2 separate regions of the Homo sapiens genome follow, and region 2 is linked to region 1. The links are contacts of gene promoters, found by promoter capture Hi-C in human tissues and cell types (Jung and others, 2019). All regions are on one chromosome and are shown on one strand. Each heading gives the region's core, a stretch centred on a gene start or on the middle of the fragment in contact. The rest is flanking DNA. Distances are from core to core; before and after follow the strand shown.

What was found. Contacts are between HindIII fragments. The study calls those that stand out against the background at their distance.
Region 2: a contact is called between a fragment that was not itself captured here and the fragment with the promoter of CENPV in region 1, in 4 of the 25 tissues and cell types used here (aorta, hippocampus, neural progenitor cells and 1 more).

What each region holds. Positions count from the first base shown.
Region 1 is chr17:16,349,929-16,355,820 of GRCh38, forward strand. CENPV (centromere protein V) reads right to left here and starts at 3,541. Exons shown (of 5, transcript NM_181716.3): 1 at 3,099-3,541; 2 at 3-101. The coding sequence starts at 3,508. RefSeq lists silencers at 2,931-3,540, 3,601-3,750. The HindIII fragment of the contact is 38,840 bases long and covers 2,234-5,892 here.
Region 2 is chr17:16,453,128-16,459,019 of GRCh38, forward strand. The region is part of intron 2 of LRRC75A (leucine rich repeat containing 75A); the gene reads right to left. All of the region lies in intron 3 of SNHG29 (small nucleolar RNA host gene 29), which reads left to right. Among named protein-coding and RNA genes, the nearest start is that of SNORD65, 15 kb to the left of the region's middle. RefSeq lists enhancers at 3,254-3,755, 3,756-4,255. The HindIII fragment of the contact is 8,128 bases long and covers 1-5,892 here.

The DNA.
Region 1 (5,892 bases), core at 2,291-4,790:
ACTTGCAGTCAAATATATGCAAGTCTGCTGAGGCCCAAACTTCAAAACGAACTGCTCCACAGTGGCAGCCTCCTGTGTGCTTCACCAGGCCCTGGTATTCACTAAATGAAACAAAAATCAGAAAGATAATAATTTCTGAATAGCTGCCTCCTGCTCTCTTTTTGTTGCTGAAAGAAAGACAGAAGATTAGACAAAAGTCTTTTCTACATGACAACCAGATGCATTTCTGCTTTTAAGGAGGCACTGTCAATTTCCTAAGTGAAGAATGGTTTCAGCACCTTCTTTGTCCATGAGCTCTCTTTTCACCAATTTCTTAAATTATATTAAGTTGCAAAATAAAACATTCCAAACATTTCGAAAATGTGAGGGATCCTAACCCACCACCAGACATTTTTATTTATATGTCAAATACTAAATTTTTTTTTTTTTTTTTGAGATGGAGTCTCAGTCTATTGCCCAGGCTGGAGTACGGTGGCACGATCTTGGCTCACTGCAACCTCTGCCACCTGGGTTGAAGCAATTCTCCAGCCTTAGCCTCCCAAGTAGCTGGGATTACAGGCGCCTGCCACCGCGCCCTGCTAATTTTGTATTTTTAGTAGAGATAGGGCTTCACCATCTTGGCCAAGCTGGTCTTGAACTCCTGACCTTGTGATCCACCCACGGGGACTCCCAAAGTGCTGGGATTACAGGCGTGAGCCACTGCTCCGGGCCTCAAATACTAAATATTTTTATGAGCTAGGCACGAAGGAGAGAACACTAAACAAGATACAGCAGACACGATTGCTACCCTTACCGACCTTAACAATTTACTCAAATAATAATTAATTATGATTGTGATAAAGGAGGTACAGGCTGCTATGAAAAATAAGACTGTGTACTCAATCAAGTCCAGAGGTCCAGAAGAGCCTTTTGAGAAACTTAATAAAGGCTCTTATATTTTTGCTCTATTTCTTTCCAGTATTCTTCATACACATGCGTTTTACATAGTTGTAATACACATTACATAGAATTTTTTTTTTTTGAGAGGGAGTTTCATTCTTGTTGCCCAGGCTGGAGTGCAGTGACGCGATTTCAGCCCACCGCAACCTCCACCTCCAGGGTTCAAATGATTCTCCTGCCTCAGCCTCCCGAGTAGCTGGGATTACAGGCGCCCACCACCACACCCAGCTAATTTTGTATTTTTAGTAGAGACGGGGTTTCTCCATGTTGGTCAGGCAGTCTCAAACTCCCCACCTCAGGTGATCCACCCGCCTCGGCCTCCCAAAGTGCTGGGATTACAGGCATGAGCCACCTCACCCAGCCTACATACAATTTTAACCCTTTAAAGCTTATATATAAGCCAAACTCAGAAATGAACATTAAGATCTGATAAATGTCTTAAAATCGCTTTCCAAAAGGATTGAACACCCTTACCCGATAAATAAATGAGAAAACATTTCACTGTACAGTCTCAGGCAATAATTATAGGAAAAATAGCTCACTGCAGTTTTAATTTGCATGATTAAGACTGATCATTTTTTCATGTTTCTTTACGTTTATGTATTTTAATTTTTTCTGCACACATAATGCTTATTGTAAAAACTCCAAACTTCACACTATTTGAGAGTGCTCAAAGTGAAAGCCTCCTGTAATCTTTACACCCAGAGGGATCTACAGTTAATTATTTGTTATATATTCCCCCAAACTTTTTTCTACACAATATTTTAACGAAAATGGTACAGTTATACACACTTTTTGAATATAATTTAGTAGACTTTATAAGTACAAAGTCATGGCAATCTAGTGGGAGAAAAACAGCTTTTTTATGTCAATATTTTAAAACTTTTTCTTGACCATTTATCAGTTTGTCTTAAAATAAAAATTTATCTCAAATTTGAGTTTTACATTCTTCTTTTTTTCTGTATGCCTTGAAGACACCATGAGTTTTACATTCCTAAGGATCTTCGTATTCCTTCTGCCCAGAGGCAGCCGTCACCCTATAGGTGCTCAAATGTTTGATGGATGAACGTTTTTTAAAAATTCAGTGTGCAGTCCAAGATGAAAAACCAAAAAGTGAAGCACACAGAAAACCAAATATGTATCTTCTGTCGGGGACGACTCATCCTAAGAGAATTTCTTCCGCAAGAAGCTCAAAGGAACATGTTCAAGAAAAGAAGTAATTCTCAGGTTATGCAATTGCTAGGTTATTCTTGTCGGTTTTTTCCCCCTAGTGTTTTGATTGTTCTTTTTAATTCGTAAAATTGACACTGAAATATAATATCAGGGCGTTAAAATATCTCTCTGTAGCACAACTGTTCCCCGAGGCAGGAATCCAGATCGCATTTGGAGAAAAGAAGGCAGCCCTTTAACAGCCCAGTTAAAAGCTCTTTCCCAAATCGCGGACACTCGAGATGCTCCTCGGGCCATCTAAAAGACTGCGGAGCAGCCAGGAGGGCGAGCGGCAGGGAGCATTAGCTGGCTGAGCACATAAAAGCCTCCCTACGTAGGTATCCCCGCCGCCGCGCGAGGCCGGAGCATCTCTTCGCGCGCGCTTCTCTCCCGGATCAATAACCTCCGCCCCCTGCTCCCTCCCTGGCAGTGCCTGGAACAATGACGGGATTTTGCTTCCCAGTGAGTTCAAAACTATTCATGCTTCCTTCAACGCTTCTACCTTTCCCTTCCACCCACCCTCAAAAACACGTGTGCAAACACAAAAAAAAAGGGGATTCGGGTAAGAGAAAGCCGTGGGATTTATGTTCTTTTCACTAAGAAAGGCCCCCACACCCTTTGCGCGCCAGCAAGAGACAACGTCCCCGAGCACGATGCTTATGGCCGGGAAAGACTCTTTGTGTCCCAAGACGGCTGCGCGCGCCCTCAAGCTCCGGACGAAGCCCCCTTTCCATTCCCAGGCCACACAGCCCTAGAAGCACCGCCCCGCCCCGCCGCCCTTAGAATTAAGGAATAACCCCAGTGCTAACGGGGGAGCCGCGTCGGCTCCGTAACGTGGAAGGCTCAGAGCTGAAAGGCGCCCAAGGCCTGCACGCGGGCTGCGAGCCCGACTCCTGCCGAGGGGGTCCGCGTGGCAACGGCTCCCGCGCCCCCCGGCCCGCCGCACTCACAAGGTGTCTAGCAGGAGCTTGGCGGCACCCTCGGAGGTAAGCTTCTGCCGCTTCTGGAACGTCTCCCAGCGCTCCCGCTGCTCGCCCAGGTCCAGGTTGGACGCCGAGGACGTCGGGGTCGCGGGAGTCGGCGGCGGCGGCGGCGGTGGCGGGAGCAACGCCAGCTCAGGCGGCGGCGGCTCCCCCGGGCCCTCCTCCTGGGCCCGCGGCGACGAGCGCCTCAGCCGCGGCTTCTCCGACGGCGGCTTCTCCACCGCCTGGCTCTTGCTCCCGGCCTGGCTAGCGGAGCGCCGTGTGCGGGTGGCGCTGGGTGCCAAGGCAGCGGCCGCGGAGGCCGCGGGGGCCGCGGAGGCCCCGGACCGCTTCTGCCCGCGCAGCTTGGCGGCCGCAGAGCTCCTCGATCGCCGCATGGCTCCCGCAGCCTGGCGCGCAGGCCTCGCAGCGCGGCGCGCCCCCGCCGGCCTGCGCGCGCCCCCGCCGCCCGCCAGTCTTCAGGCCCAGGGGGCGCTGCGCCCGGCTGCCCCGCTCCGCCAGCCGCGCCCCGCAGCGCGGCGCCTGCCCGCAGGAGGGAGACCCGGCCCGCCCGGCCGCTGGGACGCACCTGCCTGTTCAGTCCCGCAGGCAGAGGGGCTGCGCCTGGGCCTACGCTCGCGATACCCAGAATCCACTCGCACCTGCGAAGGCGCCCCTGCCCTGTGTGAATCCAGCGGGCTCTTCGTACCTTCCCGACCTGGAGGGGCCTGGGTTGGGCCTGAATTCGCAGGCTCATCCGAGCGGGCAGCCTGGGGTAACTTCGTCTCCAAAAACGAGCTAATTTGTGTAAACGGCCTGCCACCTGCTACCTCCTGTGTAACAGCGGCCGAAACCATAGTTCTTCACCTTCGTCTTTTCTGTCACATTATAGAACAGTGTCATGAGGATACCAATAGTCAACAGATTTGGGGTTTCATTTTAATTAAATGAATGACCCGCGCGTCGAATTTCATTAGTATGATTTTGATGAAGGCAGCACCAAAGTTTAAAGACAAAAGGCACGAGAATCGTTGATGGAACCCAGATAGTCTTCTTCTCCTTCTCCTTCTTCTTCTTTTTTCAGACCGAGTTTCGCTCTTGTTGCCCAGGCTGGAGTGCAGTGACGCGATCTCGCCTCACCGCAACCTCCGCCTCCCAGGTTCAAGCGATTCTCCTGCCTCAGCCTCCTGAGTAGCTGGGATTACAGGCATTCGCCACCACACCCGGCTAATTTTGTATTTTTAGTAGAGACGGGGTTTCACCATGTTGGTCAGGCTGGTGCCGAATACTCCCGACCTCAGGTGATCCATCCGCCTCGGCCTCCCAAAGCGCTGGGATTACAGGCCTGAGCCACCGGGCCCAGCCTATCTTTCTTTTTTTTTTTTTTTTTTTTTTCTTTTTTGGAGTCTCACTCTGTCGCCAGGCTGGAGTGCAGTGGCGCGATCTCGGTTCACGCAACCTCCGCCTCACCGTTCCAGCGATTCTCCTGCGTCAGCCTATCTTTCTTCTTTATTCTGATTTTCTTCATGGTATTGTTAGTTTAATAGTTTATTGAATTAAAGGCATAGTTTAACTATTTTGTCTTTTTTTTTTTTTTTCCATACAGGATCTGACAGACTGGAGTGCAGTAGCGGGATCTCGGCTCAGTGTAGCCAAGAACTCCTGGCCTCAAGCGATCCTGCCGCCTGGGCCTCTGGAGTAGCTGAGTAGCTGGAACAACAGGCGGCGCCCCCCCCCCCCCCCCCCCGCCCCAGCGAATTGTTGCTATTGTTGTTTTGTAGATACCGGGTTTCCCTATGTTGCCCAGGCTGGTCTCTAACTCCTGGCCTCAAGCGATCCTCCCGCCTAGTTCTCCCCAAGTGTTGGGATTACAGGCGTGAGCCACCGAGCCCCACCTTGCCATTTTGTCGTTGTTGTTGTTGGAATTATGGTTTACACACAGCAACGTGCAAATATCTTAGATGTACAGCTTATGTGACCACCACCACTTCAGATACAGAACATTTTCAGCACACCAGAGTTTCCCTCAGGCAAAAGAAAACAGAGGCGATCACTGTTCTTTTACCACCATAGGTTGGTTTTGCTTATTCTTGAACATCATTTTAAAACGGCACGTAGGCCGGGCGCAGTGGCTCATGCCTAATCCCAACACTATTGGGAGGCCGAGGTGCTCAGATCGCTTGAGCCCAGGAGTTTGAGACCAGGAGGTGGAAGCTGCGGTGAGCTGTGATTACACCACCATATTCTACTCTGGGTGACAGAGTGAGACCTTGTCTCAAAAAAAAAAAAAAAAAAAAAAAGCTGGGTGTGGGGAGTGGTTATCCTTGAGGAGAACTAACTGGGAAAGAGAACAAAGGACTCTTCTAAGATGCTGGATATGGCCAGGCACAGTGGCTCATGCCTGTAATCCCAGCACTTTGGGAGGCGGAGGTGGGCAGGAGTTTGAAACCAGCCTGGCCAACATGGGGAAACCCTGTCTCTACTAGAAATACAAAAACTAGCTGGGCATGCTGGCAGGCACCTGTAATCCCAGCTACTCGGGAGGCTGAGACAGGAGAATCGCTTGAATTCAGGAGGTGGCGGTTGTAGTGAGCCGGAGGTTGCACCATTGCACTCCAACCTGGGCAACAGAGTAAGACTCCGTCTCAAAGAAAAAAAAAGATACTGGATATGTTCTCTACATTATCTTGATCTGGGTGGTAGTTATGGAGGTGTGTAAAACACATAAAAACACTTCAGTGTGTGTAAGACTTAGCTCAATTTAAAAATGAAGAACATGGCT
Region 2 (5,892 bases), core at 1,368-3,867, 100 kb after region 1:
AAAATACAAAAATTAGCCAGGCGTAGTCGTGGGTGCCTGTAGTCCCAGCTACTTGGGAGGCTGTGGCAGGAGAATCGCTTGAACCCGGGAGGTGGAGGTTGCAGTGAGCCGAGATCGCGCCACTGAACTCTGGCCTGGGCGCCAGAGTGGGACTGGTGTGGGACTCCTAAACACACACACACACGCACACACGCACACACGCACACGCACACACGCACACGCACACACACACACACGAGAACAGAGGACAAGGGGGCATCACTGCACTGCCATTGCCACAAGGGGGCAGCCACGCACAGGGCCAGGCTCGGGATGGAAGTGTATCTGCCACTACCAGGGAGAACTGAGGAGCCTGCGTCTCCTCACTGGCTAGACAGGAACAATAGATATGGACACCTCATAGAGTTGCCTTGAGAGCACAAGTGAGCTGATGTTCTCTCAGGAGTGAGAGTTCCCTTCTGCTTGTCTGAACTAAACTGACAACAGCTAACATGTATTGAGCAGCTGCGATGCATTGGGCATCTCCTCTGAGCACTGTTTGCATGAACATTTTGGGGCTCAGAACACAATTCCAAAGCATGGCGCCGGGGCCAGCAGAGAGCTTTGAACTAACGGAAATTGGAAGGCCTCAGAAGCAAAGTTTTTCTGCCCTTCTGCTGCCCTCCTGTCTCTGGCCCTTCTTCTCCCCCAGAGTGAGTCAGAGAAACCAGAATTCTTCTTCCCCAAGGCAGGTCACAGAGACCAGAACCCCTCTCCCTCAAAGCAAGCCATAAAACTAGGCAGGTCACTCTCTCCCTTCTGTCTTGAAGACCATTCCAGAGGGGTAGGAAGGAACACTGCAGAGAGAGGCCAAGAAGAATCTGAGCAGATAGCCTTCCTGGGTCCCCTCGGCCTATCACCATTAGATCACACCCTTTGTCCAATCGCATTTCTACAAGCTTGTGCACTCTTTACCAAGCCTGAGTATAAAAACAGATAGCTGGCTGAGTGTGGTGGCTCACGCCTGTAATCCCAGCACTTTGGGAGGCCGAGGTGGGTGGATCACCTGAGGTCAGGAGTTCGAGACTAGCCTGGCCAACACGGCGAAACTCCATCTCTACTAAAAATACAAAAAATTAGCTAGGCATGGTGGCGGGCACCTGTAGTCCCAGCTACTTGGTAGGCTGAGGCAGGAGAGTTGCTTGAACCCAGGAGGTGGAGGGTCCAGTGAGCCGAGATCACGTCATTGCACTCCAGCCTGGGCAACAGAGTGAGACTCTGTCAAAAAACAAACAAACAAACAGGCCAGGCGTGGTGGCTCATGCCTGTAATCCCAGCACTTTGGGAGGCAGAGGGGGGCGGATCACCTGAGGTTGGGAGTTTGAGACCAGCCTGACCAACATGGAGAAACCCCATCTCTACTGAAAATACAAAATTAGCCAGGCATGGTGGTGCATGTCTGTAATCCCAGCTGCTCGGAAGGCTGAGGCAGGAGAATCGCGTGAACCCAGGAGGCAGAGGTTGAGGTGGGCCGAGATCACGCCACTGCACTCCAGCCCGGGCAACAAGAGCAAAATTCCGTTTTAAAATAAATAAATAAATATAATTAAAATAAACAAATTCTAACAAACAAAAAACCAAAAAAACAAAAAAACCTCTTTCCCTGGGGTTTGGGGTCTTCATTTCTTTCTTTTTTTAAAGAGATGGGGGTCTCACTATATTGGCCTTGCTGGTATTGAATTCCTGGACTCATGTAATCCTCCTGTATCAGCCTCCCAGGTAGCTGGGGCTAAGGGTCCTCATTTCTTTTCTTTTCTTTTCTTTTCTTTTTTTTTTTTAGTGACGGAGTCTTGCTCTGTCCCCGCCCTCAGGCTGGAGTACAGTGGCACCATCTCAGCTCATTGCAACCTCCGTCTCCCAGGTTCAAGTGATTCTCCTGGCTTAGCCTCCCGAGTAGCTGGGATTACAGGCGCGTGCCACCACGCCCAGCTAATTTTTGTATTTTTAGTAGAGACAGGGTTTCACTATGTTGGCCAGGTTGGTCTTGAACTCCTGACCTCAGACGATCCGCCTGCCTCGGCCTCCCAAAGTGCTGGTATTACAGGTGTGAGCCACCGTGCCTCACCTGAGCGTCTTCATTTCTGAAAGCTCCCATGTTGCGTAAAATTTTGATTAAACACATTTGTTCTGCTTTTTTGTTACCCTGTGTCTGGTTATAGGAGTGTCAGCCATGACCCTTATAATGAGTGAGGGAAAAGTACCACACAGTTCTGCCCTACAATTTTTTTTTTTAGACGGAGTCTTGCTCTGTCGCCCGGCTGGAGTGCAGTGGCGCAATCTCAGCTCAATGCAACCTCCATCTCCCAGATTCAAGCGGTTCTCTTGCTTCAGCCTCCCGAGTAGCTGGGACTACAGGCACCCGCCATCCATGCCCGGCTAATTTTTTTTGTATTTCTATTAGAGACGGGGTTTCACCATGTTGGTCAGGCTGGTCTCAAATCCTGACCTCAAGTGGTCCACCTGCCTCGACCTCCCTAAGTGCCCTACAAACTATAGTCCCATACCTTACTACAACCCTATGAGACAGGTATTATTAATAACCCCGCTTTACAAATGAGGGAACTGAGGCAAAAAGAACTTAAATAGATGGGCAAGGCCTCCCAGCTTGTAAGACGGAGTCAGGATCTAAAGTCAGCCAGCTCTGAGGCTGATGCTCCTAACCGCTATCTGCTGCCCTCCTTGTGAGAAATCCTGTCTTTGGCTTAGGTCAGTTCAAAGTGTTTCTATCATTTACAACCAGAAAAGCCTTCAGTGAGACTGTCTCATTTTTTCCCAACTCTTCCACTTTTCAAAGAACCCCTCCAGGGCTCCCTCCTGCAGAGAACAGGACTAGGCAGCACTGGCCCAGAAGTGGAGCAGTAAGAAGGTGGGGAACGGGGGGAGGGAGAGGAGGAGAAGGAGGAAGAGGAAGAGGGAGAGGAGGAGGAGGAAGGGGAGGGGGAGGAGGAGGAGTAGCAGTAGTAGGAGGAGGAGGAAGAGGAGGGAGAGGAGGAGGAAGAGGAGGGGTAGGAGGAGGAAGAGGAGGAAGGAGGAGGAAGAGGAGGAGGAAGAGGAGGAAGAAGAGGAGAAAGGAGGAGAAGAAGGAAGAGGATCAGGAAGAGGAGGAGGAGGAAGAGGAGGAGGAAGAGAAGGAAGAGGAGGAGGAGGAAGAGGAGAAGAAGGAAGAGGAGGAGGAAGAGAAGGAAGAGGAGGAGGAAGAGAAGGAAGAGGAGGAGGAAGAGAAGAAGGAAAAGGAGGAAGAGGAGGAGGAGGAAGAGGAGCAGAAGAAGGAAGAGGAGGAGGAAGAGGAAGAAGAGGAGAAGGAGAAAGAAGAGGAGGAGGAAGAGGAAGAGGAGGAGGAAGCTGGACTTGACACTGAGACACACATACCCTAACTCCTCCAGTGGCTGGAACCCTGAGAAGTAACCTGGGAGCCATAGCTAGCCACATTCCCTACCATGCGGCAGGGGGAAGAGCAGTCTGTGCAGAGGGAACACAGAGGGAGGCAGGGTAGAGCAGCGAGGAGGGAAGGAGGGACCTCTGCACCGTGCTTATCTATAGTTCTAGCACCTTGGTCTAACTTGGCTGCCCGTGGGCACCACAAGACACCTCGATATCTGTAGAACACATTTTCTTCCTTGCTGGAGCCAGCCCGCCTGGGCTTCTGTTATGTGCAGCAGAATCCTAACCCGCCCAGAAGGCTCAATGGCTGTGTGCTGAATCAATGCTTTGCAGTCCTCCCCCGATCCCTGAAGATGGCAGGAGTGGGATGTGGCACAGTCAAGTGACTATGAGTGCAGGTCAGGGCAGCAGCCTCTCCAGACCTTCCCAGTGAGGCTGCCCAGGTCCTGGGGCAGAACGTGTTTGAGGGGCTTCTCATTAATCTGTCAGGAAAGATGACGTGCTGACCTGCAGGCTGACCTGGGAGGGGTACCAGCACCCGACACTGCTCTGGCTCTCAGCCATCAGGCAGTGATACCATCTGCCATCTTCACTCCCCAGGCACCTCTGTAACTGCTCCAGGACCCCGACAAGCACAGCCCTCCACTGCCCTCCATTCAAGGCTATCCCTCCCTCATCCATAAATTCATTCATACATTCATCAAATGTTGACTGTCCCCCTCATTACACTGGACACCATTCCAGATGCAGAGACTGTGTGCCGGCTTTTCTGTTTCCTCTTGCCCCACAGTCCACTCTGCCCTTCTCTGCTCAGAAGGCTGGGCTCTAGAGACTGCATCACTGGGCTCTCTTCCCCCTGGCTTCCACTTGGGTTCAGCTAATGGGAGCAATGGCAGCAAGACCAGAGGGCAGGAGGAGAGACGGATGGGGGAGTTTATTCTGATTCCCCCACTTCGGCATGTGCAGCCGCCGGCCTCCAAGACAGCCTTGCTGCTCTCGGCTCCTGGCATCTGTGCCCCTGTGTAATGTCCTTCCACATTGTAGCAGGGCTGGTCTAAGTGAGCAACAGAATCATTAGAACCAATAGAATGGTGGAAATGATGGTTTGTGACTTCTGAGACTGGGTCTTAAAAGGTATTGTGGGGGTTGGGCTCACACCTGCAATCCTAGTGCTTTGGGAGGCCAAGGGAGGGGGATTGCTTGAGGCCAGGAGTTTGAGACCAGCCTTGGCAACATAGTGAGTGCCCCGTCTCTACAAGAAAAAAAAAAACAAAAAATTAGCTAGGCATGGTGGTGCCTGCCTGCAGTCCCAGCTACTTGGGAAGGTGAGGTGGGAGGATCACTTGAGCCTAGTAGTTCCAGGCTGCAGAAAGTTATGATCACACCTCTGCACTCCAGCCTGGGCATCAGAGTGGGACCCTGTCTCAAAACAAACAAACAAACAAATACAAACAACAACAACAACAAAAAAGCAAGGCCAGGCATAGTGGCTCACACCTGTAATCCCAGCACTTTGGAAGGCCAAGGTGGGTGGATCACCTGAGGTCAGGAGTTTGAGACCAGGCTGGCCAACATGGTGAAACCCCGTCTCTACTAAAAATACAAAACATTAGCCAGTTGTGGTGGCAGGTGCCTGTAATCCCAAGCTACTTGGGAGGCTGAGGCAGGAGAACCGCTTAAACCCGGGAGGCAGAGGTTGCAGCGAGTCGAGATTGCGCCATTGCACTCCAGCCTAGGTGATACAGCGAGACTCTGTCAAAAGAAAGAAAGAAAGAAAAGAAAGGAAAGAAAGAAAGGCATTATGGCTTCTATATTATCACCTGTTGTGGGATAAGCCAGCTGCCATGATGTGAGGACACTCAAGCAGTCCCATGGAGAGGCTACAGGGCGAGTGTGCCGCCTTGGAAGTAGACCTGCCAACTTCTTTTTTTTTTTGAGACGGAGTTTCGCTCTTGTTGCCCAGGCTGGAGTGCAATGGCGCGATCTCAGCTCACGGCAACCTCCGCCTGCCGGGTTCCAGTGATTCTCCTGCCTCAGCCTCCCGAGTAGCTGGGATTATAGGCATGCGCCACCACGCCCGGCTAATTTTGTATTTTTAGTAGAGATGGGGTTTCTCCATGTTGGTCAGGCTGGTCTCGAACTTCCAACCTCAGATGATCCACCTGCCTCGGCCTCCCAAAGTGCTCGGTGGCCTCCCAAAGGTGTGAGCCACCGAGACTGGCAGACCTGCCAACTTCTGTTAAGCCTTCTGACACCTGCAGCCCTGACCAATGTCTTGAGAGACCCAAAGCTAAACTACCTACTTAAGCGGCCCCTGCAAACCTGACCTACAGAGACTATAACAATAAATGTCTGTTGTTTTAAGCCACTAAGTTTTGGGGTAGTTTGCTATATGGCAATGGATAATGCAGCGTGGCTCTGGACCAGGTGTTCTCACCCTGCCTCTGGCAATACAGCTTGTCCTCCTGTGAA